7 separate regions of the Homo sapiens genome follow, and all the other regions are linked to region 1. Evidence: promoter capture Hi-C in 16 types of primary human blood cells and fetal thymus (Javierre and others, 2016). All regions are on one chromosome and are shown on one strand. Each heading gives the region's core, a stretch centred on a gene start or on the middle of the fragment in contact. The rest is flanking DNA. Distances are from core to core; before and after follow the strand shown. Region 1 holds the start of ANKRD49 (ankyrin repeat domain 49). Region 2 overlaps MED17 (mediator complex subunit 17). Region 3 holds the start of SNORA25 (small nucleolar RNA, H/ACA box 25). Region 4 overlaps CEP295 (centrosomal protein 295). Region 5 has its middle 19 kb from the start of CEP295. Region 6 overlaps CEP295 (centrosomal protein 295). Region 7 has its middle 13 kb from the start of MED17.

Region 1 (2,949 bases), core at 1-2,500:
GCTTTAGAAACCCCAAATAACAAGGGATTCCAGAAGTCAGGTGCTTACAGTGCATCTGCAGTACTCATTTTTATGGTCAGTCAAGCTCCTCTGGGACCAGGTTCTTCTCCAAGAACCCCTGGGTACTGTACTCAAATGTCAGAAAATGCACTCGATTCCAAATTCTAGAAATTCTAAAAACAAAATTACATCATAAAACACATTTTTTAAAAGCCTGCACGTATTTAACCAACATGATTTACGCTGCACAAGGTACAGACGTCTTAATTAGACTGGCAAATTTAGAAGTCTCATTTTCATCTAAGCACCCACTATACTTTTTTTTAATGAACTGAGCATAGAAAATAATATATCTCCAGTGTACATCCTGTTTCCTAGTTTCACCAAGATGATTAAACTCCTATTTTCCTTTCCCGTGCTCTTATGGGAAATTAATGTATGCTAAATAAATGGGCAGAAAGGGTCACATACGGTTCTGGTTCAACACACAAACAACTCTAGATGTGCAGATATTTTTAAGTTGCACGCATAGGTTACTCTGGAGAACAGAGGCAATCCTGTATTTCCTATTCAAACCCCACGATTTTTTTTAAAGGACCTGGCTAGTTTGGAAAAGGGAACGGGCCCGCGTTTAAAGCGAGTGTAAATAAACAAACACGTGGTCTGCGGAGGAACACCTTTAAGCACCAGCAGGATGACTGAAAATAGCCAGGTTTGGGGAAGAGTGGCTGCCACCGCGAGACAACCCCCACCACATCTGGAGCTCCAGATTCCGTCGGGATTCCAAGCCTCAACACGCCCTCACCGCAGGGAACCTCGGAATCAGAACGCTGAGCCCGCCAGGACCCCTCCCCTGCCCACTCGGCCCGCTCTTCCCGAGGTTCCAGTTAACTCTGGGCTTCCGCCTGGGAACCTGCAGAAACAGGAGACGAATGCGATTCCTAAATTACCCCACTGCTGGACTCTTCGAAGCCCCACAATCGCGACCCAAGGCTGTCTTCTTTTCGGGAAGAAAGGGCAGGATCCGTGAAAAGAAAACAACACGGTCTGAACTTGCCTCTGAGAACCCGCAGGGCCGTAAACCTGAATTCCGCGGGAGAGAACGGCGTCCGTTTCTCTCGCGACACTTCATGGATAACGTAGATGCTTCAAGTCCAGTTCGGCTCTCATTGGCTACCGCACGCAGTGAGGGGGCGGGGAAAGTAGCGGCGAGGCCCCGCCCTCACGCAGGAGCCAATCCTGAGCAGGCTAGGAGACGAACCCGGAAGTGAGATGCAAGGCGGCGATTTTCCCTTCTGTCAGGTGGGTTGTTATTCCCTGTCCCGGACCTCGCTTTTTGATGGACCGGCGCCATCTAAGAACTCCTGAGCCCGTGGGGGTGGGTAGCCTGTGGACACAGGCCGAGCCCTGCAGGTCAGGCCGCTTCGTGGTCCCCAGGTAGGACCGAAGCCGCTTCTCCGCTCTTGGCTGTTTGGAAGGCCGCAGGCGGAGCTCACGGGCCTGTGAGCTCCCGGCTGGTGGCAGAGTGCCGGAGCTGGATCCCCTCTCCCTCCCTCCCAGTCGCCAGACCCTCTACAGGTGTCGCCCCTAGGTCCTTGAGTTCAGCACATCTGCACTGCTTTGTGCTGAGAGCAGTAAGATGTATAGTGCAGCGAAAAATAATGTAGAACTTTTGAATTAGAACGTCTGCCCTTTCAGTTCCATTGAAGGGTCCTTGATCTAGGGCAAGTTGTTTTAATCTATCTGAACCTCCTTCACCAGTAAGGTTTATAGCCCCGCCTATCACTGAGTTGTTTGTAAGGAGTTGACATAGTTCGGATCTCTCTCAAAATAGGATATGCCCTTTAAGTTAGGAAACATACCCTGACATTCCTGATGGAATATCAGGAATATCATCATCAAGTCATCAGTTTTGTTTCTTAACTGTAAGTCGGGTAGATGCGCCTAGGCTTGGCTTTTTAAACTAAATATACCAGTAAAATTTTGTACATAATTTTTTGTATCTGGATCTGTAAACTCAAAATTTATATAAAGGGAGTTTTTATTGAAAGGAAAAGCATGTTGGGGGAGAGGGTAAGATCTGTGGTATAAGGTTACTATATTTGATATAATTACAAGTGAACTTTTATTTATTAGCATCTGTTAAGTGTTTAATGAATTGATGTATGGTCATTTTTGTGTTGCAAGGTTCAGGAATTAGTTTGAGAATCAAAGAAAAAGTGGAAGCTCCAGGAGAATTAATAAAACACAGAGCAATTCTGATTGGATATCTCTGATTCCAAGGGTGTCTCTGATTGGGTGACTGAAAAGCCGGATTGGCCTTAGGAATACTTTAGTAAAATTCTTACATTTTACAATAAAGTAACAGGACCAGAAAAGTTACTGGACATGAGTAATACATTTAAACTTGAGTTTAGTGCTATTGCCACTAGTAATAAAGTTTAATACCACATTAAGATTGTATACTGTTAAACTTGTGAGATTAGGTATCAAGAAATCAGTATCTTGGGGTTATGCCTAACTCTGGAACTTCTCAGAATCCATTCCAGGCAAAATCAAGTGACAAGACTTTAATTAAATGTAATGCTACACATACTTCTTAATGCCTTCTATAGACAAGTAGGAGATAAATATAAGTTAAATGTGGTCCTTATCTTTCAGCTTATAATCTTTTAAGGGGCTAAAACAAGAACAAAGTTAGAGGTGAAATGTAGCACCAAAAAAAGTAGAAAGCAGAAAGCGATCTAAATGAGAGGATCAAGAAAGAATGAAAGAGATAACATCAGAGAAGAGCCTTGAAAGACTGATTATATTTCAACAAATAGAGTTGAGAGGCTGGGAATTCGTATTTGTAAATTATCTATTGGTTATTCTCCTTTTCTTTAATTGATTAAGGTTTATATGTTGTGTAACCCTTTAAGCTGATATTGGTTTAAAAATTAATATGGC
Region 2 (3,136 bases), core at 175-2,674, 700 kb before region 1:
CTTTTTTTTCTCTCTCTCTTTTTAGGAGTGGTAAAATTTCAGCCTTCCCTTTGGCCTTGGGACTCAGTGAGGAACAATTTGAGAAGTGCCCTGACAGAGATGTGTGTTCTCTATGATGTTCTCAGTATTGTTAGGGATAAAAAATTTATGACTCTTGATCCTGTCTCTCAGGATGCACTTCCTCCAAAACAGGTATTTGTGGACTTTAATTGAATAATAAAATTTTATTTATTAAATCCCAGGACCCTTTTTTGGCTTTGTGCCTGTTGTTCCATTTTCCTTTCTTGCAAAATTAAGTCCAGATGAAGATTTAAAGACTAACTGGTCTAAAACAAAGCCATACAACTGCATTTCCTTTATTTTTTTATTATATACCTATGATCCTTGGAAGAGTTAAGTTTCATTAAGAATGTAATACCTTTAAGGCCAGGCGTGGTGGCTCACGCCTGTAATCCCAGCACTTTGGGAGGCCAAGGCGGGCAGATCACGAGGTCAGGAGATCGAGACCATCCTGGCTAATGCTGTGAAACCTTGTCTCTATTAAAAATAACAAAAATAAGCCAGGCGTGGTGGTGGGCACCTGTAGTCCCAGCTACTCAGAAGGCTGAGGCAGGAGAATTGCTTGAGCCTGGGAGGCGGGGGTTGCAGTGAGCTGAGATCGCGCCACTGCACTCCAGCCTGGGCGACAGAGCGAGATTCCATCCCAAAAAAAAAAAAAAAAAGAATGTAATACTTTAAAGGTTACCAAATCTTAACAAATTCTTATAGCCTGGGTCCTTGGTCTGTGATATATTACACAAAAATGTGATGATATAATGGCTTTGGAATCAGGTAGACCTGGATTCGAATCCTGCCTCTGCCTTCATTAACTGTGTGACCTTAAATTAAGCAAGTTATTTTCTCTTAAGTCCCTGTTTTTCCATCTAATCCTTCCTTCCCTTTTTTTTTAAGGGATGGATTAGAAAAGTTAGGCGAAATTATGGAGCATATTGAGAGCTGGGTAGAATTGCTGCTATTTCATAAACAGTGTATTCAATTTTTGAACATTTGAAGATGAAAGAGAAGTAGCAGGAAGATGAGTTGGTGAATAGTCTGAAATCATTGAGGCTACTTGGGTCCTTAAGGAAAACAAGTGTCAAGACCATAACCAAATTAGTCATGGAGAAGAAGTAATGACTGTTAGAACCCATTTGTAAATAAAATTAATTGAATAGAATTACTCACATAGTAATAGTTTCAGAATCTAGAAACATTGTGCTGGGGGACTAATAGAGTTCCCTAAATCTGCATTCTTCATTTTATAGAGAGAAAACTAAAGCTTAAAGAGATTTGTAATATGTTCAAGTTGCTGTCAAGCCAGTAGTTAGGGAGCCAAGACTAGAACTCCAGCACCTAACTCATAGCCCCACTGCCTTTTCTACTATTCTGTGCTTTTCCCAGAAGGGAGTCTCCAGGAATTTCTTAATATCTCCAGGAACTCTTTTATTTACGTTCCCTAATACAATCAAAAGATTATTTTGATATGTTTATGAAGCTTTTTATGTGATTTTTGACTCTCATACAGCCAGAAAACTGTATTAAACTGGTTAGTAAAATACACAAATTATGGTGATTGTGGATATTTATATATGCATATGTGATACATAGATAGTGACTTCTGATCAGTTTTCCAAAAAATTAGGATTCAGTGAAGTACATTTAATATTAACAATGGCAGGGCACGGTGGCTTATGCCTGTAATTCCAACACTTTGGGGAACCAAAGCAGGAAGCCAGGAGTTTGAGACTTTCCCAGGCAACATAGCAAGACCCTGTCTCTACCAAAAAAAAAAAAAAAAGCCAGGCTTGGTGTTGCACATCTGGAGTCCCAGCTTCTCAAGAAGCTGAAGCAGGAGGATCACTTGAGCCAGTAGGTCAAGGCTATGGTGAGCCAAGATGGTGGTACTGCATTCTAGACTGGGTGACAGAACAAGACTCCATCTCAAAAGAAAAAAAGTTAATGCTGTGTGATTTTAGTCCTAATTCCAAAAGCACTTTAATAGCTTATGGTAAGATGCAAAATATGGTAAGCTACAAAATACAAGATAATTTTACAGTTATACCCATTGCAGTCATTCATTCATTCATTAAATCAAATATTATGTGCCAGGCATTGTTCTAGGGTTTGTGGATATAGTGATTTCTGCCATCATGCAGGTTACCATTGAAGCAGAGATTATAGATGTTAATCAGAAGTATAATGAGTGCCAAAAAGGTTATATATAACTATATGTGTGTATGTACAGGATAGGGGGCTGGCAATATATAAGGAGAGGAATGGCAGTACATTAAGAGGGGACCCTAACAGGCTGGACAGAGTTGATGCAATGGTAAGTTCTGAGTAGAGGCCATTGTAGTGTTTTTGGTTTAACATAAGTAAAGCTTTGAGTGAGTTGGACAAAGAAATAGGTTAAGGTTATTATTTTATTAAAAACACTGTTATGTGTACTTGCCCCTCCTTTTTGCTTTTTGTTCACTTCATTTTATTATTGATAAAATGTGTAATTTTAGAGTCATTTAAAAATCCTGCAGAACTGCATGTTTGGGTTGTTTTTGACAGAATCCTCAGACGTTGCAATTGATATCTAAAAAGAAGTCACTTGCTGGAGCAGCACAAATCTTATTGAAGGGGGCAGAAAGACTGACTAAATCAGTTACCGAAAACCAAGAAAACAAGCTACAAAGAGACTTCAATTCTGAGCTTTTGCGATTACGGCAACACTGGAAACTTCGAAAAGTTGGAGATAAAATTCTCGGAGATCTGAGCTACAGAAGTGCAGGTATGAATAATTATTAAAAACTATACTTTCTGGCCAGGTGTGGTGGCTCATGCGTGTAATCCTAGCACTTTGGAAGGCCAAGGCAGTTGGATCACTTGAGGCCAGGAGTTCAAGATGAGCCCAGGCAACATGGCAAAACCCTATCTCTACCAAAAATGCAAAAAATTAGCCAGGCGTGGTAACACGCACCTGTAATCCTAGCTACTTGGGAGGCTGAGGCATGAGAATTGCTTGAACCCAGGAGGTGGAGGTTGCAGTGAGCCAAGATCGCACCATTGCTCTCCAGCATGGGGGACAGAGCGAGACTCTCTCAAAAAC
Region 3 (2,957 bases), core at 451-2,950, 760 kb before region 1:
TCCTCCTGCCTCAACTTCCGAAGTAGTTTGGACACACCACAATGCCTGGCAGGAAAAACCTGAAACAAAATACAAGCAAAACTGCTTGTTAATATTGCTATCCAGCTTGTGATCACTAGAAATATCCAGCATAATGCAGAAACTTAAAAATTTGAAAACTGTCTTCTGAGAGTATTTTACAAAAGATCCTTTTTCTCCCAATTCAGATATCCTTTCTCCAACTTCCCTGAAAAATGGTGGTTCTGCCTGTGCTTCAGCACTTTCAGTGTTGAGCCTCATTCCAGTGCAATGAATTCATCCATTATTGGAATAAGTATTGGAAACCTGCTCCTCATATTAAGCAACTTATAATCTGCTTGCTTTCAACACCAGTCAACTGGTGACTGGTTTTCATCTAGCAGTATGTGCAGTTTATCCTTCCACAAATAAACATAACAGATTGAAAATAAGAATTACAACTAAACCACGTTTTATGTGGCTGCTTTTGTTCTTGTTGTGTTTAGATACTTTTGAAACATTATCTGTTAGCAGTCAGTGGCCCACATTTGGTAGCAGCCCAGTCGACCCCTGCTCCCTTTAAAGGATACAATTCGGCACAGCCAACCTGCATTTATATTTTTTGCCCAACACTACAAGCATTTAGGTTTGTAATCATTGTGGTAGATACCTTTCAGTCCATTGTCACACTATTTCATCCCCTCCCCAAAGTAGGCTCCAGTATTTCTACAACTGAATGCTGGAGTTATGGAAGCCTAAGGAAATCTGATCTGTTGGTCTTTGCCAATCATTGCTTTTCTTCCTCCATTTTCACATTTATATACACTTGCAAAAAATGTGCATTATATACAAAACGATTAGTTTAAGTCTTTTAAGGCTATTTTGACATGGTTTTCCTTTTAATTGTGGTTCACAGGAAACAGAAACTGGCCATGGTATAATGGAAGAACCAGAACTTACTTTAATAAGCACCACTGATACCAGTATTGCTGAAATGGATTTTGCAAATTTAACCCTAGAAGAGAAGAGCGAGAATGAAGCAAAATGCTTCTTTCAGGTAAATTTAAGCTTTCCTTCTATTTTATTCTATTACAAGCAAACCAGTTGATTTGTCTCTTACAACTTATCAGAAGGTACTCATTGGAGGGAATTATGCTATGCATTTAACTAAGCCGACACCCCCACCAGCTCTCAATTTGTCTTAAACCTTCACTATTCTGTCAACCATTGTGCATTTTCTTTTAATCCCCACTCCAATTTATGCCTGTCTCCAAGACTGGCAGAACTAATCTTATACACCTAGTGTTATAGTGCCAAGTTGGAAGTTTTACCTAAACTTATTCCCAGATATTGAAAAATGACTTCAGAACAACTGGTAATTTTACTAGGGGAGTAGGGAGGCAATAAGAATAAAGCTATCTAAACAGAGGCCTAGAGGTGTGAGGGCAGTGGAGCCTAAGCCCAGTTCAAGACCAGCCTGGGCAACAAGGCAAAACCCAATCCCTACAAAAAATACAAAAATCAGGCATGGTGGCGGGTCTCTGTAGACCCAGCTAAGATTGAGGCTGCAGTGAGGTGTGATCATGCCGCTGCACTCTAATCTGACAGCAGAGCAAGACCCGCTTAAAGCGTTTAAAAAGAGTAAAACATGCAACTTTCTTGCCATTAGGTGAGTGAGTTTCTGCCTCTTGTATCAGCAACAGAAGCCTCAGATTATCCAGCTGTATCAGAACTTTCCATAGAAAAACCAAGGACAGCATCTACAGGTAAGCCTTGGACGGCCTCCACACTTCTAATGGAAAGTAGATACTTTGCCTATTTCTGTCATAAATTTCTTTTCCCCCAGCAGAAACCCCTCGCAGGCTTACACCTGTACCAGGGAGCTTACAAGAAGCATTTATAAAGAGGAAAAAATCATTTATGGAGAGATCCCACCAGAGGCAGAAAGAAATAAGGAATAAAATTCATGTCTCTGAAAATTCTCAAATCAAAACAGTTAAAGAGAAACCATCTATAAGTATGTTGAATTTTTAAAATCTTCAACCAACTCCCTGAAATGTTTAAAGCCTTGTGTTTACAACTTGATTTCACTTTTCTTTCCTCAGGTTCATCTGTGAGTCGTCTAAAGGGCGTGAATAAAGTCAGAGCATCTTTTCCTGAAGACAGAAAGACTACACAGGCTCTAAGGCACCAAAGGGGTCTAAGGTAGGGTTAATTTTTTTTTTTTTTTTAGTGATTCACTTTTTGCAGTGTTTGTCTCTAATTCTATATAAATTCTTTACAGGTTATACAATCAACTAGCTGAAGTGAAACAACAAAAGGAAGAAAAAACAAAACAAGAAGCTTATGCCCAAAACAGAGCAAGGGCAAAAGAATTCCATAAGGTGAGTATAACTGAGGGAGAAGGACTTAATTTTTCAAGCATGAAGTACACAACTGAAACTCAAATTTTTATTCCTTCCACAGAAAACACTAGAGAAACTTCGAGCCAAAAATACATGCTGACTTTCTAGAAATAGTGTAAAGGTTTTTTAATTGTGTATATGTAGCATTAGACAAAATTATTTAAAGTCAATAAATTGTTATTCGAGGAATTCCATGTTGTGATTTCTTCCACTGTCCATCAAGGTCACTTTAGATCCTCTAAAGAGCTGGAGTCAAAAGATTTATCTTCAAGTTTGCCCTGAAGAAGAGAAATTTTGATTAACCTTTAAAACTCTCACATGGCAACAATCCTGGATTATTACGTTTTATATCTCCTCAGGAAAACATAGCACCAAACATTAGGAGTGCTATGGCTTCCTATAGAGAACTTCCATCTTTGGTCACAGCGTTAAGAGCTCTGGGTTTCACAGCCTCATAAGCCCTCTTTGAAATGACCCATACAAATGTCTTTTCTAATGCATACATACCTTTTTAATGAAACTGATCCAGTTGTCCTGTCAGCCCTACATAACAAT
Region 4 (3,217 bases), core at 650-3,149, 790 kb before region 1:
AGAGATACCAACATTGCCTGATGGGCTGTTGGGTTTATCACATCTTGTTTTACCTCAACAAGATAATTTGATTGCACTTGAAGAACACTTGCATGCACAGACAGATTTCCTTCCTTCTATTGAGAAAACCCAGAAAGAATTGGTTTTGTCAAAACCATGTAAATTTGAGGAAAAGGTATCTTCTGAGCATTTTATCCAGTCTCACCATGGTGATTTGCAGGCACTTCAACAGCAGTTAGATACACAGAAGAAAGCCATTCGATCTATACAGGAAGTCCAAGAAGAATTGCTTTTGCAAAGATTAAGTGAATTGGAGAAAAGGGTATCATCTGAACAAGTTTGCTCCTCTTCATTTGTATCCCAGGTGCCTGTTGCTGACTCTGAAAGAACCCAGAAGTCTTTCCCAACCAAAAGTAATGATACTCTTCCCTCAAGTCATCGTGAGATTCCAAGATTACAGGATAGACTTTTGAGTTTATCAAAGCCTATTCTGCCTCAGCAAGATAATATGACAGCACAATTGGATGCACAAAGGGAAGTGATGTATTCTTATGAGAAACCCCAGGAAGAACTGTCTTTAAACAAACAAAGAAAGTTGAACAAAAGTGAATCTGCTGAGCATACTATCCCCTCTTTGTTTCTACCCAAGGAAACAGAGCATTCGTTTATTCCACTACCTTTTGCAGAAGCTAAACCTAAAAGCACTTGTGAATTGTATTCATCCCAGAATGAACATGCAGCCCCCCCAAGTAATCCTGTGATCCCAGGGTTTCAAGATAGACTTTTGAGTTTTTCACAGTCTGTCTTAACTCAGCAAGATAACTTGGGACTTCAGAAACAGTTGGATCTACAAAGAGAAGTTCTGCATTATAGCCAGAAAGCCCAGGAAAAATTGCTTGTACAGAGACAAACAGCATTGCAGCAGCAGATACAGAAACATGAAGAGACTTTGAAGGATTTCTTTAAAGACAGTCAGGTATGTTTTAAACCTGAATAATAATGAAACACTAGAAGTTTAAACCCAAATCAGTTTTTAATACTAGGATTACAAGTTTTCAGTTATTGAGAAAAAGTAGTTTGACCTTAACTGTGCTTTGATTTTTCACCCTAAATGATGTGGAAGTTAAAACAAAAATCGATCCACCCACATGGTGTTTATGAGGTTAATAGTTACGTGAAGTCCAATTAATTTTTTTAAATTTTCTTTTGTTTTTGCTTTTTTTTTTTTTTTTTGAGACAAGGTCTCGCTCTGTTGTCCAGGCTGGAGTAGAGTGGCACCATGTCGGCTCACTGCAACCCCTACCTCCTGGGTTTAAGTGGTTCTTGTGCCTCAGTCTCCCAAGTAGCTGGGATTACAGACATGTACCACCATGCCTGGCTAAATTTTGTATTTTTTTTTTTTTAATAGAGACAGGGTTTCCCCATGTTGCTGGGATTACAAAGTGCGGGGATTACAGGTGTGAGCCACCACACCTGACCCAAAGCTCAATTAATTTCACCTGCAAACACACCACAAAACAATGTAGATTCTTATTTTAGAGTTTTGTTTTAATGTATTTTAAGCTTACCATAAGATTTAAATTGTAAAAATAACTGGTTAGCAGAATTTCTCTTATGCAGCAACAGACATTGTGCTCTTTGTTGACATTTATATACAAATCAAAATCAATACCATCTTTTTTCTCAAGTGACACTATTATGGTTTGTTGTAAAACGGGCATGATTTTAGGCTGATGTAGAGCTGGACCTGCTGCTTTTATCTGAATTGTTCATAAGACTCGGCCCAGTGACTCATTCATAGTTGCCCTATCTGGGAGACAAGGGTATGTTCTAAATTTGAATGTATCTGTTTTATTTTAAAAGGCCAGTTCTGCTGGACATGGTGACTCAGGCCTTATAATCCCAGCACTTTGAGAGGCCGTGGCAGGTGGATCTCCTGAGCCCAGGAGTTCAAGATCAGCCTGGGCAACATGGCAAAACCCTGTCTCTACAAAAAATACAAAAATTAGCCAGGCATGGTAGCATGTACCTCTAGTCCTAGCAACTCTGGAGGCTTAGGTGGGAGGATGACTTGAGCCCAGGAGGTTGAGGCTGCAGTGAGCCATATTATGCCACTGTACTCCAGCCTGGGCGATGAGGGAGACCCTATCTCAAAAAAATAAATAAATGAAAGGCCACTTCCTAAATTTATTATTTAGTCTAAATAGAATTCTACAAATCCTTTGATGTCGAGAAGAAGCTTGAGTTGGGTTCAGGAAGAGTTAACGTCAAGAGATTTACTGGTCATTTAAAGGAAAAGTAATGGCAAAAGAAAAGCAGAGGGAAATACTCAAATATAATCTCTTATGGAAAGATGAAATGGAGGCTAAGTTTTTTTTTGTTTGTTTTTTGTTTGTTTGTTTGTTTGTTTTTGAGACGGAGTCTTGCTCTGTCACCAGGCTGGAGTGCCGTGACGTCATCTTGGCTCACTGCAACCTCTGATTCCCTGGTTCAAGCGATTCTCCTGCCTCAGCCTCCCGGGTAGCTGGGATTACAGGCATGCACCACCATGCCCAGCTAACTTTTGTATTTTTTGTAGAGACAGGGTTTTGCCATGTTGCCCAGGCTGGTTTCAATCTCCTGACATCATGATCTGCCCAACTCGGCCTCCCAAAGTGCTAGGATTACAGGCGTGAGCCACTGCACCTGGCTGTAGGCTAAGTTTTTAAGTCCAAGGCTGTGAATGGTTGTTGTTTTTGTTGTTGTTGTTGTTGTTGTTTGAGACGAAATCTTGCTCTGCTGCCCAGGCTGCAGGCTGGAGTGCAGTGGCACGATCTTGGCTCACTGCAACCTCTGCCTTCCAGGTTCAAGTGATTCTCCTGCCTCAGCCTCCTAAGTAGCCAGGATTACAGGCATGCACAATCACGCCCAGCCAATTTTTGTATTTTTAGTAGAGACGGGATTTCACCATGTTGGCCAGGCTGGTCTTGAACTCCTGACTTCAGGTGTCCTGCCCACCTTGGCTTCCCAAAGTGCTGGGATTGCAGGCGTGAGCCACCGCGCCTGGCCGAATGGTTGTATTTTCAATGGAAATATCCTTTTGGCATTAGAAGCATATCTTATTTTTTATATATAGATAAAATTTTGTGATTGATGGAACTATTTATTTGGTTTACGTTCTAATTTAAGAAGGGAGATATAAATCTAATGAATAATGCTTCACATGATCCCCCAACTT
Region 5 (3,121 bases), core at 400-2,899, 850 kb before region 1:
CAATATGGCAGTTATTAAAACAAACTCAGCCAGGAGCCATTACGGGACTAGGTCAGGACCACACAGTTAGTTACTGACAAGCTGAGATGGGTCCCACAGGCCCCAGATCTGCTGGTTTCAAAAGCAGAGCACTTTCCACCTCACAACATTGGCCCTGATGTAGGGTTGTTTGGGTTTTGTTTAAACAATCATTGAGGACACAGTGTCTATAATTTATTTTACATCTTCTGCACAAAGCAGCTTCTCGGGGATTATTCTTCACAGACTAACTGCAGATAGAAGTAAAAGAGAAAAGTTGTAAGAGACACACCATCCAGAAAATGAAGATGATGAAAAAAATTCTACTGATAAGGACCTTGACAAGAAAGCTGGAGAAAGGCTTTAATCTATGGATTTCTGGTAACCCTGGAAACCGGCACCTCTGAAGCACTGGGATAAAAATCCTCAAAGGACTGGGATGAAGATTAGTAACATCATTAGATAGATGGCAGACAGAGCCCTTTGAGAAATAAATCAATACCCATACAGATGCAGAATACCAATATAGGAACCTTCCCCCACCAGGTGATGCCCCGTGGCAAAACACTGTGGCCATGTCCTAGGTATACCAAACATCAGTGGCTTTGACAGATGATGTGGCCCTGCCATCTTGCACTTTCACCCGCCTGATCCAAACTCTAAGCACCAGCAGTCCAGGCCGTGCCAGAGGCTGAAGGAGCAGCACTACATGAAGAAAGATCACTGGATTGGGTATAGAGAAACTAATTAGGTAAGTCACTTAATCCCTCTGTCAGTTTCCACATCCATAAAATGGGGGATAATAAACCTGCACTGCCTCCATCATAGGCTTTTTGAGTATCAACAAAGTTAATCCACGTGAAAGTGCTTGGGAAATCATGAAGGCTGATGATAAATTATAACTAGTGTTACAATGACTAGTTTTTTCCTGACCATGCAGGCATAGACACCTGAGACCCAGATTCACAACTATCTTGAAGAAAAGTGGTACAGGGGCCAGGTGCGGTGCCCCACACCAATAATCCCAGCACTTTGGAAGGCTGAGGCAGGCAGATCACCTAAGGTCAGGAGTTCGAGACCAGCCTGGTCAACATGGCAAAACCCCATCTCTACTAAATACAAAAATTAGCCGGGTATGGTGGCAGGCGCCTGTAATCCCAGCTACTCAGGAGGCTGAGGTGTAAGAATAGCTTGAACCCAGGAGGCAGAGGTTGCAGTGAGCCGAGATTATGCCACTGCACTCCAGCCTGGGGGATAGATCAAGACTCTGTCTCAAAAAAAAAAAAAAAAAAAAAAAAAAAGAGAAGAAAAAAAAAGAAAAAGAAAAAGAAAAGAAAAGTGGTACAGTACTATGCAGAAGCCACCAGCAGCTGGGCTGCTTGAATTGTTTGTCAAGCTGGGTGCTCATAAATACAGGTTATTTAGAAGAGACTAGAAATAAACCAGGGAAGGGCCCCTAACAAAACAACTCCCCTACTGGCAAGCTGCATTGCCTCATATTGCACCATTACGGCAGTCTTTTCTTAGTTGAAGCATTGTCCTTGGGAAGATTTTAAATGCAAATTTTCCTAGGAAGAGTAACATATTGACTGGTTACCAGTCATTTATTCTGAGTTAGTCTATTCACAGATTCCTCAGGTAGTGCTCTTAAACAAGGAAATTAAACGGTAATTTCAATAGTGGGAAAAAGATTTGGGACACTGAGACAGGCCTTGAGAGGCAAATCTGGGTAGTACATGTATTGAGTGGGATGCAAGACGGCAGAGGAGGCACAGTTTCCAAACTCGTGAGATGAACACTAAATAAAGGAGCGGTAAAGACTGCTGAACCAAACTCACTTACACTTTTTCTCAAGGTCTAAAAGGGGAAGAATTGGATCCTGTGCTTCTTTGCCTAATCCAAGTTCCTGTTTGCACTGATTCTTTGTCTTTTCCTCTAGGTAGCAGAGTTTACCTTGATATTGCTCCAAGTAATAGAAAAACAAAGCTAATTTAACATTCTTGATTATTTCTCCTCATATATCACCATTTATCCCAGACAAGTAGCTATCTGCAAGGCTCTCCTAATGGGTTTTTTAAATCAAAAGTTCTTTAAAGTGGGTTGGAAGGCTTTTAATATAAATTAAAAGCCTTCAATATAAATTATTGGACTCATATAATAAGTCCAATATAAATTGGACTTATTATATAAGTCCAATATAAATTATCTATTTTAAGAAAGAAGTACTCGATGTCCAAAAATGATCCTCTTAAGGCCATAGACCTGGGAAATGTTCTAGAACCCTCACTGGTATAACATGCTGCCTCAGTTTCCCCAGGGTGATCAGTGTGGAGAGCAGAAAACAAGGCAATGAGGGTCAGCAAACACCAGATGGACAGCTCACACTACTCAGATGGACCCTAACAAGCTGTGTTCCCAAAGTCTGCACATTTGTGAACCTTTAAGCCAGCCAGCTCATCCATGTCCCAGCTAGCACCTATCAGGGAACACAAACTGCCCAGGGTGTCCATACAGTCCCACTTGATCCCACCCTTGCTCCGAATCCCTGTGCTCCTCAGTTCTGGTGGATTGTAGCCTTACTGGTCTTCCCTTTCATTTATGGCCCTGCTGTCATGCATTGTACTTGACCCCTGAATTTTGATCCCAAATGTGTTCCTCAAAACCCTCGACTCATTGCAGTAGACTAGATTTACTTGCCACCAAATATTCTGATTCTCCTTTCTGTGAGGATTATAGAAGCCTTCCCTGTTGAACTCCAGAGTAGCTAAGGCTGACATGGCCAGTGAAAAGTGAGAAGTGCCACTAGGAACCAGAGCATGGCTTGCCATCTCTTTTCCCCAGGTCTCAACAACAGGGAATGCTTCAGGAAGAGACTGGCCTATCAGCCTGGACTCAGCACAGAGATGTGGAACACAGCTGCAACTGGCCCATGCTGGAAATAGGAGTGAGAAATAAACTTTTATTGTTATAAATATTGATATTTGGGAGTCTCATTCGTTACTACAGCATAACTGATTCACACATCCTTGAATTCCTACCACATACAGCAACTTCATACAGACAGACTGCCAGGTTTGACTCCAGCCCCAACACACCTTGATCT
Region 6 (3,339 bases), core at 239-2,738, 810 kb before region 1:
AGGAAGGGTGGGTGTTCAATATAGTCTCTGATTCATATGATTTCAAGTTTCCCAACTTTCTTTGCCCTCCAATTTCAAGTTCTGATTGGGTTAAGCTATTCTCCCAGTGTATTGCTATTCTAAAAATTTTACTAATGAATTTATTAAAAGTTTAATATTTTAATATGTCCAAAAACAGCCTGAGGAAAAAAATCACTTTCCTGATTATTTCAATAGCATATGTGCTCTATAAATTTGAGGATTCAGTTCATTAAATTTGTATTGAGCAAAGCACTTGTTGGCTTTGCAGAATGTTGTTTCAAAAATAAAGTCATGATCCTTGCTACCGGAGCTTTTAAAAAGTGACAGTCAATAGGCCAGGCATGGTGGCTCATGCCTGTAATCCCAGCACTCTGGGAGGCCAAGGCGAGCAGATCGCATAGGCCCGGGAGTTTAAGACCAGCTTGGAAAACATGGAGAAACCACGTCTCTACTTAAAACAGAAAAATTAGCCAGGCATGGTGGTGTGCGGCTGTAGTCCCAGCTACTCAGGAGGCCAAGGTGGGAGGATCACCTGAGCCCGGGACAAGGAGGTTGCGTTGAGCTGAAATCACACCATACCACTGCACGCCAGCCTGGGCCACAGAGCGAGACCCTGTCTCAAAAAAAATTAAATAAAAAGTGACTGTCAAGTCCAGTCGAGGTAGCTCAGGCCTGTCTCAGGCCTGTCATCCCAACACTTTGGGAGGCCAAAGTGAGCAGATGGCTTGAGCCCAAGAGTTCAAGACCAGGCTGGGCAACATGGTGAAACCCTGTCTTTACCAAAATTCCAAAAATTAGCCAGGCGTGGTGGCCTGGGACTACAGAGTCAATACAGTCAGTCCCAGTTTGGGACTGTGTTGTGGCCTGGGACCTCATTTCCCGAGAAGGCTGAGGTAGGAGGATTGCTTGAGCCTGGCAGGCAGAAGCTGTCATGAGCCGAGATTGCACTATTGCACTCCACCCTGGTGACAGAGTGAGATTCTGTCAATCAATCAATAAATAGTGACTGTCATCAATATGTAAAATATTGTAATGAAAGCTGGCTTTATAGTTTTAGCTTAACTTCTGTCATGCTTATTGTTCATTTAGTGCTTAGTCTTAAAATATAGCATAAAAATGATTCATCTTATTAGAAGTCTGATTTTATTTTCTGAATTTGACTAATGCATTTGGATTTTTTAAATACCCATCTTAGGAATGAGTTTTTAAGTACTTCTTAAAAATGCATTGGAAATTAAATTTTCTTATGAAAGGTTATTTTTATAGTTTGAACTAAATCATGAGCTTCTCCCTTAAATTTTTAGCTTTCATAAACTAGGAGTGAATTATGACTAAAATAACTGAATGTCTGAATTATTATCAGTAATTCTCCCCATCTAAGGTTTAAACCTATAGTAAAACAGACACAAAAAGCAGTCATAAATTGAACAGATTCTTCCATAAAAGCAGTAATGTTTAGTAGTTAAGCAAGTGGGCTTCACAGTCATTCTGCCAGGATTTATCTGTCTTCTTCACCACTCAGCTGTTTGATCTCAGGCAGATTAGTTAACCTCTCTAAGTTCTGTTTCATGTGTTGTTTTTTTTTTTTTTTTTGAGACGGAGTCTCACTCTGTCGCCCAGGCTGGAGTGCAGTGCTGGGATCTTGGCTCACTGCAACCTTCACCTCCCGGATTCTAGCAATTCTCCTGCCTCAGCCTCCTAAGTAGCTGGGACTACAGGCTCGCGTCACCACACCCAGCTAATTTTTTTTTTTTTTTTTTTTTTTTTTTTTTGTGACAGAGTCTTGCTCTATCACTCAGGCGGGAGTGCAATGGCGTGATCTTGGCTCACTGCAACCTCCACCTCCTGGGTTCAAATGACTCTCCTGCCTTGGCCTCCCAAGTAGCTGGGACTACAGGCACATACCACCACGCTTGGCTAATTTTTATATTTTTAGTAGAGACAGGGTTTCACCACGTTAGCCAGGATAGTCTCGATCTCCTGACCTCATGATCCGCCTGCCTCAGCCTCCCAAATTGCTGGGATTACAGGCGTGAGCCACCATGCCCAGCCCAAGTTTTTTGTATTTTTAGTAGAGACGGGGTTTCACCATGTTGGCCAGGCTGGAACTCCTGACCTCAAACAATCTGCCTGCCTCGACCTCCCAAAGTGCTGGGATTACAGGTGTGGGCCACCAAGCCTGGCTGTTTTTTGTTTTTGTTTTTTTTTTTTAACCTCCCCTGCCACACCTCTCCTGATCATCTGTTTTGTGAGGATTCAATGAGTTTTCCAAAGCCCTTGGAAATGTGCCTGGAATTTCATAAGCTCAGTAAATGTTAGTGGTAGTGGTCATTGTTATAAATAATCCAAAAGGAATAATATACTAGCTTGCAGTGAGCTAGAATAGTACACTTACTCAAACAACTTTAGATAATTAGAATCTTAGTATAAATGAAATAAGTTCATTTATAATTTTCCTTTTCAGGACATGGCAAAAAAAATTCATCCTCAAAAGACAAAATAGTTAAAACTTTACAAAAGAATAAGTAATGTATATATGTTATCACTTTTTAATTTATTTTTATTTATTTTTTATTTTTTGAGACAGTGTCTCACTCTGTTGCCCAGGGTAGAGTTCAGTGGCGTGATCTTGGCTCACTGCAACCTCTGCCTCCTGGGTTCAAGCAATTCTCCCGCCCCAGCCTCCCGAGTAGCTGGCATTTCAGGCGCATGCCGTCACGCCCTGCTACTCTTTGTATTTTTAGTAGAGACGGGATTTCGCCATATTGGCCAGGCTGGCCTCGAACTCCTGACCTCAGGTGATCTGCCTGCCTTGGCCTCCCAAAGTGCTGGGATTACAGGTGTGAGCCACTGTGCCTGGCCCATTACCATTTTTTTAATGCAGGATTTCTCTACGTTATAGTAGACTTAATGTTCCTTATATAAGAAGGTTGTTAAAAAAAAAAACCGTGCAATCTCACTGCTAATAGAGGATTTCATTTTTCCTGTCTGAACCTTTTTGCTGCATACTGTATTGTGGCCTGGGACCTTATTTCCTTCTAGTGTCTATATTAACTAATATTTGACTTCTACCTGCTTCTCCAGTTTTATCTTCCTTCCCTAATCATCCTTGCCCTCCATGCCCTAGCTATAATGAACAGTGTGCTATTTTCTGAATATCCCGTGCCTTCATCTCCATACTGTTGTGCTGCAGTTTTTTTCTTACATGTACTCATTCTCTTTCAGCCACTTTTGTCTGGCTAAATCCTTATCCCATCCCAAGGAACAAGAAGTCTTGCCTTGTTCTCCCTCCTTACCTTCTACCACCAAAATTCCATT
Region 7 (3,095 bases), core at 1-2,500, 720 kb before region 1:
TTGCCCAGGCTGGAGTGCAATGGTGCAATCCTGGCTCACTGCAATCTCCGCCTCCCAGGTTCAAGTGATCCTCCTGTCTTGGCCTCTGGAGTAGCTGGGACTACAGGCATACACCACCAGGCCCAGCTAATTTTTGTATTTTTAGTGGAGACGGGGTTTTGCCATGTTGGCCAGGCTGGTCTCGAACTCCTGACCTCAGGTAATCCGCCTGCCTCAGCCTCCCAAAGTGCTTGGATTACAGGCGTGAGCCACTGCACCCGGCCAGTATTGCCCTATATTGTACTGTACACTGTTAAATTAAGTTTAGCCTAAAAGCTGCCTCCTTACATATTTTAAGTTTGGCCTAAAAGTTTCTCCATACCTAGTGAAATGTAATCTAACTGGATGTGTAAATGGACTTGTGAAAGGAAAATAAATCTTGGAACCCCAAAATCACTAAGCCAAAAGAAAAGTCAAGCTGGGAACTATGTCAGACACCTGCCTCCCATTTTATTCCTAAATAAGACAGCTACAAAGAGAAGAAGCTATATACCTCCCTCACAATTGTCCACAATACCTTGTGGACAAAGGACAGACAGAACTCAAAGTCATCCCTCTGAGGCTCACCTGAGACAAATGCATATCTGATTGTTTTCTCTGCCCTATTGTTTATGTAAAAACAATATGCACAGTCACTGAGCCAGACTAAATTGTGTATTCAGTGGAAGGCTGATCAAGGACTCAAAAGAATGCAACCTTTTCCTTTTATCTCTTATCTACTTCTAACCTGGAAGTCCCCACATAGAGTTGTCCTGCCTTATCTGAGGGAACCAATGTGTATCTTACACAGATTAATTGATGTCTCATGTCTCCCTAAAATGTATAAAACCAACGTGTGCTCTGATCATCCTGGGCACATGTTGTCAGGACCTCCTGAGGCTATGTCACAGTGCATCCTTAACCTTGGCAAATTAAACTTTCTAAATTGACTGAGACCTGTCTCAGATATTTTGGGTTCACAGACTGTTACTCTTGTAACAAGTAGCCAAGTCTCAACCAATCACAGCAGCCATACTCCAACCACTCACAGGCGGCCAACTGTTCGAACCACCTTCAAATAAGGCAAATGCTGAGCTGTAACCAATCCAGCTGTTCCTGTACCTCCCTTCCATTTTGTGTAGGCCACTTTCCTTTTTCTGTCCTTAAATCCTCTCCAACCATCTGGCAGCACTGGAGTCACTTCTGGACCTATTCTGTTCTGGGGGTTGCCCAATTCAAGAATTGTTCTTTGTTCAATTAAGCTCCGTTTAATTTGTCTAAAATTTTTCTTTTAACAACATGTTAAAGGAAACTGAATATCATAACAAGAGAAATTTACTAAAGAATACATGGGCCAGGCACAGTGGCTCACACCTGTAATCCCAGCACTCTGGGAGGCTGAGGTGGGCAGATCTGTTAAACCCAGGAGTTCGAGATCAGCCTGGGCAACATGGAGAAACTCTGTCTCTACCGAAAACACAAAAAAATAGCCAGATGTGGTAGTGCATGCCTGTAGTCCCAGCTACTTAGAAGGCTGAGGCTGGAGGATCGCTTGAGCCCAGGAGGCAAAGGCTGCAACGAGCTGAGATCCTGCCATTGCACTCCAGTCTGGGTGACCAGAGTGAGACCTTGTGTGATGGTTGATACTGTCAACGTGATTGGATTGAAAGATGCAACGTATTGTTCCTCAATGTGTCTGTGAGGGTGTTGCCAAAGGAGATTAACATTTGAGTCAGTGGCCTGGGAAAGGCAGACTCACCCTCAATGTGGGTGGGCACCGTCCAATCAACTGCCAGTGCAGCTAGAAAAAAAGCAGGCAAAAGAAGGTGGGAGAAGCTGACTTGCTGAGTCTTCCACCCTTTATCTTTCTCCCGTGATGGATGCTTCCTGATCTCAAACATCAGACTCCAAATTCTTCAGCTTTTGGACTCTTGTACTTACACCAGTGGTTTTCCAGGGGCTCTTGGGCCTTTGGCCACAGGCTGAAGGATGCACCATCAGCTTCCCTACTTTTGAGGTTTTGGGAGTCAGACTGACTTCATTGCTCCTCAGCTTGCAGACGGCCTATTATGAGACTTCACCTTGTGATTGTGTGAGTCAATACTCCTTTATAAACTCCCCTTCATATATACATCTATCCTATTCTGTCTCTCTAGAAAACTCTGACTAATGTACCTCATCTTTAAAAAAAAACAAAAACACAAACAAACAAACATGAATTTGAACTTCTGGTGCTGGCCAAGATGGAATAAGCCTTGGCCAGCACCAAGACTTAGCACAACAACCTGTTTCCCACACAATTACAAAATATAGAACTTTGCATGAAAAAAAGCATCCCTTTCAGAACAGTTGAAAATTAAACAATGGGCTGGGCATGGTGGCTTATGCCAGTAGGCCCAGCACTTTGGAAGGCCCAGGTGGGAGGATTGCTTAAGCCCAGGAGTTTTGTTACGGGATCTTTGGGGTGTCACTTTTCTGGCTGGAAACCTGTGGCTGGTAGTGCCTTTGCTTGAGCTTTGTTCAGGCACACTGGACTCATTCCACCCATTCAGCCTGGCAGGCTGTGCTCAGCTCATGCTACTGGCTGGGATCCCATGCCTCCAAGAAAGACTGTGAGTCAGGCATGGAGAGGTGAGGGGTATCTGAGCAAGTATGGGATCCAGCCACTGCACAGTCAGACATGCTGGCTGCACCAGGTGCACTACAAGCTGCTTCCCCAGCTGGCATTGGGGAATGCGGTGGTGTCCGGAAGCTTGGAGACATCAGAAACTGCAGGGCCTCAAAGAGGGAGTCACAGCCCTGGCTCAGGGAGTTTCCAGGTCTGGCCTCCCCAAAGGGCTGCCGCTCTTCTTCTCTCCACCCACAATGTGGTGAGCAAGGGGCATGTTTCAGCCCTGTTTGTGTTACAGCTCTTTTAGTCTTGCCTTTCAGCGAGTCCCAAGTTCTTGTCCTGCAACCAGGAAGAATGAGGTATGCAGACAAGTGAAAGGTGAGCAAGATGAAAAGGAGCTTCAATGAGCATTAGAACAGCTCAAAGAAGACCTGCAGTGGGCAGCTCCTTTCCATAGACAGGGTGT

The links. Contacts are between HindIII fragments. The CHiCAGO score rates a contact against its expected background, and 5 or more counts as called.
Region 2: a contact is called between a fragment that was not itself captured here and the fragment with the promoter of ANKRD49 in region 1, in 16 of 17 cell types (total CD8 T cells, naive CD8 T cells, naive CD4 T cells and 13 more). The highest score is 22.8, in total CD8 T cells.
Region 3: a contact is called between a fragment that was not itself captured here and the fragment with the promoter of ANKRD49 in region 1, in 13 of 17 cell types (naive CD4 T cells, total CD8 T cells, total CD4 T cells and 10 more). The highest score is 14.0, in naive CD4 T cells.
Region 4: a fragment that was not itself captured here is called in contact with the fragment with the promoter of ANKRD49 in region 1 in 8 of 17 cell types (megakaryocytes, total CD8 T cells, total B cells and 5 more); the score reaches 8.4 in megakaryocytes.
Region 5: a fragment that was not itself captured here is called in contact with the fragment with the promoter of ANKRD49 in region 1 in 4 of 17 cell types (total CD4 T cells, naive CD4 T cells, naive CD8 T cells and 1 more); the score reaches 7.2 in total CD4 T cells.
Region 6: a fragment that was not itself captured here is called in contact with the fragment with the promoter of ANKRD49 in region 1 in 5 of 17 cell types (total CD4 T cells, naive CD8 T cells, total CD8 T cells and 2 more); the score reaches 6.9 in total CD4 T cells.
Region 7: a contact is called between a fragment that was not itself captured here and the fragment with the promoter of ANKRD49 in region 1, in 1 of 17 cell types (M0 macrophages). The highest score is 5.7, in M0 macrophages.

Annotation. Positions count from the first base shown.
Region 1 is chr11:94,492,734-94,495,682 of GRCh38, forward strand. ANKRD49 (ankyrin repeat domain 49) reads left to right here and starts at 1,251. Exons shown (of 3, transcript NM_017704.3): 1 at 1,251-1,302. MRE11 (MRE11 double strand break repair nuclease) reads right to left here and starts at 1,111. Exons shown (of 20, transcript NM_005591.4): 1 at 1,058-1,111; 2 at 49-173. The coding sequence starts at 68. RefSeq lists an enhancer at 1,461-1,550. The HindIII fragment of the contact is 5,313 bases long and covers 1-2,949 here.
Region 2 is chr11:93,787,976-93,791,111 of GRCh38, forward strand. MED17 (mediator complex subunit 17) reads left to right here. Exons shown (of 12, transcript NM_004268.5): 2 at 26-192; 3 at 2,599-2,818. Among named protein-coding and RNA genes, the nearest start is that of MED17, 5.3 kb to the left of the region's middle. The HindIII fragment of the contact is 216 bases long and covers 1,317-1,532 here.
Region 3 is chr11:93,727,768-93,730,724 of GRCh38, forward strand. CEP295 (centrosomal protein 295) reads left to right here. Exons shown (of 30, transcript NM_033395.2): 25 at 914-1,054; 26 at 1,667-1,763; 27 at 1,847-2,014; 28 at 2,103-2,202; 29 at 2,282-2,381; 30 at 2,464-2,591. The coding sequence ends at 2,502. It overlaps SNORA25 (small nucleolar RNA, H/ACA box 25), which reads right to left and starts at 2,879; the gene lies at 2,746-2,879. It also overlaps a transcript of TAF1D not described here. The HindIII fragment of the contact is 1,275 bases long and covers 1,064-2,338 here.
Region 4 is chr11:93,699,211-93,702,427 of GRCh38, forward strand. It overlaps CEP295 (centrosomal protein 295), which reads left to right. Exons shown (of 30, transcript NM_033395.2): 15 at 1-976. Among named protein-coding and RNA genes, the nearest start is that of SNORA25, 30 kb to the right of the region's middle. The HindIII fragment of the contact is 676 bases long and covers 1,562-2,237 here.
Region 5 is chr11:93,641,107-93,644,227 of GRCh38, forward strand. No RefSeq gene overlaps it. Among named protein-coding and RNA genes, the nearest start is that of CEP295, 19 kb to the right of the region's middle. The HindIII fragment of the contact is 6,443 bases long and covers 1-3,121 here.
Region 6 is chr11:93,679,641-93,682,979 of GRCh38, forward strand. The region is part of intron 7 of CEP295 (centrosomal protein 295); the gene reads left to right. Among named protein-coding and RNA genes, the nearest start is that of CEP295, 20 kb to the left of the region's middle. The HindIII fragment of the contact is 3,806 bases long and covers 1-3,339 here.
Region 7 is chr11:93,769,657-93,772,751 of GRCh38, forward strand. No RefSeq gene overlaps it. Among named protein-coding and RNA genes, the nearest start is that of MED17, 13 kb to the right of the region's middle. The HindIII fragment of the contact is 3,035 bases long and covers 1-2,768 here.